3 separate regions of the Homo sapiens genome follow, and regions 1 and 3 are each linked to region 2. The links are contacts of gene promoters, found by promoter capture Hi-C in blood cells and fetal thymus (Javierre and others, 2016). All regions are on one chromosome and are shown on one strand. Each heading gives the region's core, a stretch centred on a gene start or on the middle of the fragment in contact. The rest is flanking DNA. Distances are from core to core; before and after follow the strand shown.

What was found. Contacts are between HindIII fragments. The CHiCAGO score rates a contact against its expected background, and 5 or more counts as called.
Region 1: a contact is called between a fragment that was not itself captured here and the fragment with the promoter of PLSCR5-AS1 in region 2, in 5 of 17 cell types (M1 macrophages, naive B cells, M2 macrophages and 2 more). The highest score is 10.8, in M1 macrophages.
Region 3: a contact is called between a fragment that was not itself captured here and the fragment with the promoter of PLSCR5-AS1 in region 2, in 1 of 17 cell types (activated CD4 T cells). The highest score is 5.0, in activated CD4 T cells.

The regions. Positions count from the first base shown.
Region 1 is chr3:148,949,821-148,952,520 of GRCh38, reverse strand. All of the region lies in intron 2 of LOC107986045 (a long non-coding RNA gene), which reads right to left. Among named protein-coding and RNA genes, the nearest start is that of GYG1, 40 kb to the left of the region's middle. The HindIII fragment of the contact is 6,256 bases long and covers 1-2,700 here.
Region 2 is chr3:146,588,351-146,591,162 of GRCh38, reverse strand. It overlaps PLSCR5-AS1 (PLSCR5 antisense RNA 1), which reads right to left and starts at 1,561. Exons shown (of 2, transcript NR_046698.1): 1 at 1,375-1,561; 2 at 838-1,100. It overlaps PLSCR5 (phospholipid scramblase family member 5), which reads left to right. Exons shown (of 8, transcript NM_001085420.2): 6 at 1,349-1,510. The HindIII fragment of the contact is 1,724 bases long and covers 1,372-2,812 here.
Region 3 is chr3:143,896,668-143,899,500 of GRCh38, reverse strand. No RefSeq gene overlaps it. Among named protein-coding and RNA genes, the nearest start is that of SLC9A9, 50 kb to the right of the region's middle. The HindIII fragment of the contact is 3,266 bases long and covers 1-2,833 here.

The DNA of each region.
Region 1 (2,700 bases), core at 198-2,697, 2.4 Mb before region 2:
CTGGGTCTCCCGAAATTCATATATTGAAGTCCTGACTCCCAGTAGTGGAGAATGTGACTGTATTTGGAGATAGGACTTCTAAAGAGGAAATTGAGGTAAAATGAAGTCCAATGGGTGGGTCCTAATTCAGTATGACAGGTAACCTTATAAGAAGAGGCAATTAGGACATAGACATACGCAGAAGAAAGACCATGTGAAGACACTGGAGGAAGAAAGCCATCTACAAGTCAAGGAGAGAGGCCTCAGAATGAAATCAATCCTGCTGACATTTTGATTTGGGACTTCTGGCCTCTAGAATTGTGAGAAAAGAAATTTCTCTTATTTAAGCCATGCAGTCTGTGGTATTTTGTTACAGCAGCCTTAGCAAACTAATACACACACACACACACACACACACGCACACATACACACACAAAGGAAAACATGTTAAATGTTGAGCAATGGGGGATTAATGAAACACGTTTTGGCTCATCTGCATGATGGAGCTCCATTCCTACATTTAAAGTGATGCTGATGAACACTGTCATGGAAAGCTACTGATGCTATGTCATTATATAAAGCATATTATCCAATAGTATGTATAGCATAATATTTTATTTGTATGTGTGTGTATATATATAAAGTAAATATTAGTTTGGTCTGAGTGGTGATACATTCCTTTATTTGTTTAGGAAAGTAAAAATTTGTGCTGCTGGCTGCTGGATCATGACGTTCCCAAGTGAACACTAACAATGCTTACAGAATATAAACAATGTTCAGACAAGGCCACTCTGTGACTATGTTTGGAACAAGATAAAGATGAGGCCACTCTATAACCATAAAAATGACTAGATACATTCTTCTTTTAACAGAAGTGACTGCTATTTTCTTTCTTTTTAAATGAATGACAACTCTTACCCACTTTAGATTTTTTCCTTGCTAAGATAAAAATTTTTTCCTTGCTAAGATAAAAATTGTACCTTCATTTTGACAGAATCTCATCCAGATTTGATCCCTACTTTCCTAATTTCTCCTTAAATTTATCCATTAAATTCCCAGATCTTATAAGAAGCCCTCTCAACTCCCTCTTATCAAGAGGCTCCAGAAATCTGGTGGTTTAGGTCAATGGGCCTTAACAATTCCAAATTAGATCAATTTGTCCCCTCCCACCGACCACAACTAGCAGGACATTCCATCTCAGTTGAGTTTTAGGAGGCTCTTCTTGATTTATAAAGCTGTTGAGGATTTTAGGATGTTCATTGCCCTTTTTAAGAGGGCAGCTTCCTTTCCTCTACCAAGCTGGGCACGGGAATTTTTTGTTGTGTGCCAAGGCCAAAAACCTGGGGTTCAGTCCAGGTCACTGCTTGAGGACTGTTTGGGAGTGGGGCATAGATCTTCACCATTTCTTGAACCCAATGCCACTGGTCTCCTCCTTGGCAAAACTTCTGTCCTCCTGGCTTAGGCCTCCACTCTCAGGACTAGTCTCTTTCTGGGTGGATAGAGTGTTAGCTTTCTAGCACCTCCTGGCTTCTGGTTTGTAGCTCTGCAACTATACTTATTAACAAGTGGCTGAGGCTAGGAAGCTCAGACTTAGAACACGAAATTTGCTTGGGAGTGAGGGAGGAAAAAGCATCTCTCCTTCTTTTACAGTGGTGCATTCAGCACATACCATTTTCTAAATAACACTCTGACTCATATTCTAGAAAGGGTTTTGATATATGTCCTGCAGTGTTAAAAGTGGTATTATGGGCCTTTAAAGTGTTTACTTTTGTTACTTATTTTTACTTTCTAAATTTTCTTTCGTTGAACATTTGCTTCCAAAATCAGAAAAGTCATTTATTTTAGCTAATAAAATAACGAAACAGAATAAGAAGAAAGGAAGAATGAAATAAGTAAAACAAGCCTGTCAGTAGTGGATGTATAGACATATTGATGTAGTATGAATTTAGGACAGCCTGAAAATTGGCTTTCTCTCAGTGCATAAAGGCTGGCCCTATGGAAGTGGTAGGAGGAATGAGGTTCATTGTTGAGGAGAAATGTCTTTTGAAAGGGAAATGACATAATGGCTTTTACCCCTAGCTCATATTAGAATTACTCGATACCCAGGCCCCACCCCCAGTGATTTATGTGATTACTGTTTAAAGGAAGGAGAACATGGATGAGGAATGAGGCCCTCAATACAAAACTTCCCTATTTACATTTTTCCTTAGAGCCATCTTTGGAGGAAAGGTGGGATCAGATTATTCCCTTTTATTAGTGTTTTCTCAGATATTGTAAGGCTACCCCATTGATGTAAAAACTATGTTTACTGTTACAGGGAAGAACATTTGAAAGCAATTTTTACTTGTACATTTTATTGTATTGTATGTTAGAAAAATATGGCCGGGCAAGGTGGCTCAAGCCTGTAATCCCAACACTTTGGGAGGCCGAGGCGGGCGGATCACGAGGTCAGGAAATTGAGACCATCCTGGCTAACATGGTGAAACCCCATCTGTACTAAAAATACAAAAAAATTAGTTGTGTGTGGTGGCGGGCACCTGTAGTCCCAGCTACTTGGGAGGCTGAGGCAGGAAAATGGCGTGAACCCAGGAGGCGGAGCTTGCAGTGAGCCGAGATCGCACCACTGCACCACTGCACTCCAGCCTGGGCAACAGAGTGGGACTCCGTCTCAAAATAAATAAATAAATAAATAAAAAATATATATATACACCAAAGTCGTGA
Region 2 (2,812 bases), core at 312-2,811:
TTAGAATCACCTAAATTATGTATCTTCTTTCCTATGGGCCTTGAGATCACATATCCCAGTTTAGATCTCATTTCAGCAGCACGTTACATTAAAACAGCATTAACTCAAAAGCTGTGTTTCTAAGACTTGCTAAGTTAGTTTTGTAAAAAAAACAAAAAAAAAAAACAAAAAAAAACCTTATTCTCGTATTTGTATAAATTGAATATTTAAAAAATAGAAAGTTGTAAATTTGATCTGTAGCAATATAAACTATCTTAACAGGTTGTCCTGGACATACAACTTAGGTAGAGGAGACAGCCTAATTGAAAGTGTATATTTATTTTTCATCCATTCATACATAAATATCTCAGCAAGGGCATTTAGTTCTCAGGACTTCAGGAAACACTATGCACGTAGAATACAATGCAAATTTTGCAAACTGAGCTGTTCCAACTTCACCCTATCCCCAAAGGATTTGGCATGACTTTCCTACGAGTAATATGATTGAGGAGGACTTTAAACATAAGAGTTTTAGCATTCATGCTATAGAAATGTCCTAAGTAACCCTCTCTATTCTCTATCTTTTACTACCCTGAAAAAAGTGATAGTTTCTCTTGAATTACTTTCAGCATCAGGATGGGAAGCAGAATAAACAAACAAATAGCTGATAAAGTTGATTTGTGAACTCCTTCTAGCTGAGAAGGACTGATTGATGTCTAGTTGGTCTTAACTTCCTATATGGTACATTAACCAGGAGGATTTTTTTAATGTAAAAATAGGATTTAGGATTTGTTAGAAAGTATTGACCTAATAAATGTCTGAGTATAATATAAAAATGTGATTTAACAATGGCCAATAATATTTAAATGTTTTAATAATTATAAAATTTTAGCAACTGAAATTTGAAAGTTTACAAATTATGCCTAGAAATTAATTTAATTCCTTCTGAAATATTTTTTCAAACATATCTTCTTTTACATTTTTAAGATGGAGAATTCAGGTTTAAAATCTGGACCTCAAGTAAAGAAATCGCCTTCATGCTTAGATGATACAATTGAACTATGTACCTGCTGCCATCTTGTGGTGGCTGAGCCTTAATTATTTATCCTGATATTCTCCATCTGCATACAAAAAAGAAAAAGAATTATGATGGACTAGAAAACTGTCAAAAAAGCAAAGTTTCTAAAAAGTAAACTGAAAAGCTAAATTTACAAACCTATGCTTATATGATGGAATGAATAACATGGAATTGTCATTTTGAAGATGACAAATAAAATAATTCAAATCTCTCATGAAGTAAACACCCTCAGAAGTATAAAACCAACTTTTTTCACTGTCAAATTTAATACTCCTTATTTTCTTTCTAAAGGTGAAAACCATTAATGAAAAGCTTACAATTGGGAAGATTTCAAAGTACTGGTCAGGATTTGTAAATGATGTCTTCACAAATGCTGACAATTTCGGAATTCATGTTCCTGCAGATCTAGATGTAACAGTCAAAGCAGCAATGATCGGTGCCTGTTTTCTCTTTGTAAGTATGGGCTTTGAGAGCATGAGTGATTTGTTATTCTCCCTCTTGCTTGTTAATTACAATATAGCCTATCCCATTTACACAGTTTTTACCCCCAAAGAGTATATTTTATTCATAGAAGGATAGCTTAGGACCAATGTTCTTCAAAAATTAGAATTTAGAACCCTGCATTTCTGTTAGGCAGCCCCTCTTCAGTGATCTCATATCCCCTTTCTCAAAGATTGAAGTGTTATCACATCCTATTCATCATTTCTTTAAAACCTAGTTTCCCCTTGCTTTTACGTTCAATTTAGATTTTTGGCTTATTTTCACTTGAACTAAAAAATATGCAAACATAAATATCACATGATTTATCCTGGATAAAGTTCCAGACTGGTTCATTGCATAATAGTGAGCTAGATGATATTAAGAATGTTGCCTTCTCAGTGTGAACATAGACACATGAAATGATTTGATGAGTTAATAGGTACCAGTTGCCATTATTTCTAAGATACTATGTTCTTGTTATTACTTTCCAACTTACAATTATATTGAAAACCTTTTCTTCTTTGGTATATGGAGATTGGTGATAGAAGAACAGAAGTCAAATAATACCTGTATCAAAATGCTTGACCTATATCCTGTTCTTAGTTTTCCCTCTAATATTTACCTAATTTCCTACCATTTTCAATGCAGCCATAAAAACTTATGGAGTTTTTATTTGTTGATATATAAACACATGTATTTTCTATAAATACATGAAAAAGATGTGTATACACAGGCACACACATAAGTGATTAAAACAAACAGCATAAGAGTTGAGAGTAGGTTGCAGACATGATGCCTTTTCCCCTAATTATATTAGTGTGCATTTCCTAAAAACAAGGAATTTTTTTACACATCACAGTACTATTGTCAAAGTCAGGCACTAAACACTGATTCAATGCTATTATCTAATCTACAGACTTTATTCGGTTTGCACTGATTTGCATAATGATGTCCTTTCTGACAATAGAAAATCCAAGATCATGAAGTATGTCCATTTTGTCACATCTCATTTGTTTCTTTTCACCTGGAACTGTTCCTAAGGGGTGTGTGTGTGTGTATATGTGTGTGCATGAACATGTGCACATGCATGTGCATTTCCCTGAGTCTCATGACATTGGCATTTTTGTTTTTGTTTTATTTTTTGTTCTATTTTTTGAGATAGAGTCTCACTCTGTCACCCAGGCTGGAGTGCAGTGGCGCAATCTTGGCTCACCACAACCTCTGCCTCCCAGGTTCAAGCGATTCTCCTGCCTCAGCCTCCCGAGTAGCTGGGAT
Region 3 (2,833 bases), core at 52-2,551, 2.7 Mb after region 2:
TTGCCTAGGATGGACTGTGTTGGGGTGGTCTCGGCTCACCACAACCTCCGCCTCCTGCGTTCAAGCAATTCTCCTGCCTCAGCCTCCCGGGTAGCTGGGATTACAGGCATATGCCACCAAGCCCGGCTAATTTTGTATTTTAGTCGAGATGGGGTTTCTCCATGTTGGTCAGGCTGGTCTTGAACTCCCGACCTCAGGTGATACGCCCACCTCGACCTCCCAAAGTGCTGGGATTACAGGCATGAGCCACCGCGCCTGGCCAAATGTGTCCATTTTTATCACCTGGTTCATCTAGTATTCAAAGACAAAAGACTGACAATGCACATCGCAATATTCTGTGATTCTCTTACTTGGGTATATTCCCAGAAATTGATGTCTTTAAAATCAAAAGCACTTAGGAGGTATTGATGTTAAATAATATTAGGGTGTCATGTTAGTCACTTTGTGCTGTCATAAATACCATAGAATAGGTGGCTTAAACAACAGAAACGTATTTCCTCATACTTTTGAAGCCTGGGAAATCCAAGACCAAGATGCCGTCTGATTCGGTTCCTAGTTAGGGTTTTCTTCCTGGCTTGCAGGTGGCTGCTTTCTTGCAGTGCCCTCTTTTTTGTTTCACTTTTATGTTAGTTTCAGGGGTACATGTGCAAACTGGTTCTACAAATAAATCATGTGCTGTGGGGGGCTGGTGTACACATTATCTTGTCACACAGGTAATAAGCATAGTACCCAATAGGTAGTTTTTCCATCCTCCTGCCCTCTACTCTCAAGTAGGCCTAGATGTGTATTGCTCCCTTCTTTGTGTCCGTGTGTACTCAGTATTTAGCTCCCACTTATAACTGAAAACATGTGTCCTCTTATAAGGCCACGAAGCCTATCAGATTAGAACCCTACCCTAATGGCTTCATCTAACCTTAATTGCTTCCTAAAAGCCCTATCTTCAAAAACAGTCACATTGAGGGTTAAGGCTTAAACATATGAATTTTGGGAGGACACAATTCAGCCCATAGCAAACATATTTTTAATACCAAAGAATTAATAGATTAGGAATAGAGGGCAAGCAAAGTCAGGGAAGAAGAGGAATTTTACATGGTGTGAAGAGTAAATATTTGTGTCTCTGTTTTTTAGTTACTGAAGAATGAGCTGCCCTTAAGTTTACGGACTTAAGTTTTAGTACTAGGAACAACCATTAAATAAGAAGCATTTCCTGGCAAGCTGTCCCACAGAAAGGTGTGAACTAGCATCCTTCTCACAAGTTTCCACAGAATTCTTGGCTAACTGGCATTGTTATAGCAACCAGAGTGTCAATGGAAGCAGTCATGGCCTTCGTAATCAAGTATCACTATGGCAACAGGAGCCTCTGGGAAGTAAAAGAAAAAAAAAATCTTAAACTGTCAACTGGAATCAAAGACGTTTGAAAAGGAAAAAAGGCGGAGGCTGAAATGAACATGAGGCTAGAGCAAGGGCCAGAGCAAAGAGAAATGATTGTACAGAAGCTGAACAAACAAGAGAGAAGGGAAACAATAAGCAAAACAGAGGGCAGAGACGTGGCTCGCATTAAGAAAGAGCAAGGCAGGAAGAAACGCAGAAACATAAGATAGTCAAAGCCATGTTCAAATGAGAAGATTCATAATGTTTACCAATTTTAATAGCCCAGGGTCAGATAAGCATGGAATGTTAAAGTCTATGTTGAAACTCTCTAGTATGCTAATAGAAGTATTGAAGAGATCTTTAGAATGAGGCCACGAGATAGTAAGAAAGGGGAAAACCATTTGTGGAGTGCTTTTGGCATAGCATCCTGCTGACTAGGAATTCTTGTAATATTTGGTGTTCAAAGGTACCACATTTGAATGTGAGTCTTCCTTTATTGGACAGTGTAATTGCTTCAGACAAGGGCACATTGCCATTTGGTCCATTACAAATATATGTTTTCTTCATTAAAGGATCTTAATGGATTTTTTTCCATGAAACAATTAAGGGAATTACTCTAATACTATTAAAAAGTACGTGGCAATGTCATTTGGAATAAAACATCTTCAATTGATATTTTCTATATTTTATTATCAGACAGGACTGAAGGTTTTTATGGCCCAATATTAACTTTTTGGGAAGGGAAAATATATTTTTTATAAAAGATGCCACTAAAATGTCAATACTTCATTTGTAGAATTAAGAAATGATTTTCATAAGTAAGACATTAAAAAAGGAATGAAAATAGAAATTATAGGTGCAGTCATAAATAGTCAAGAGAAAAATAACACAAGTTTGAGATTAAAACATAGAAATAAAACCAGCAGTCTGGGTGCTTTGCAGAAATCTGGTCCCACAGATTCTAATAGGATTTTTTTTTTTTAGACGGAGTCTCGCTCTGTCGCCCAGGCTGGAGTGCAGTGGCGCGATCTCTGCTGACTGCTAGCTCCGCCTCTTGGGTTCACGCCATTCTCCTGCCTCAGCCTCCCGAGTAGCTGGGACTACAGGCGGCCGCCACCATGCCCAGACAATTTTTTTGTTTGTTTGTTTTTCTGTTTTGTATTTTCAGTAGAGACGGGGTTTCACCGTGTTAGCTAGGATGGTCTCGGTCTCCTGACCTCGTGATCCGCCTGCCTCGGCTTCCCAAAGCGCTGGGATTACAGGCATGAGCCACACTGCACCCGGCCTATAATAGGATTTTTTTTTTAAAAAAATGACAGGCATTTCTTTCACGGTATTTTGGGTGTGATTTGCTAAAATGGCAAGGGGTGGTTTGTGGTCATTGTTTCTTCAGCTAAGAATAAGTCCACTGGTTGACAGCCAGGATGAGGAAACCTCTTTAGGAAGGCCCAAGTATTCAGGC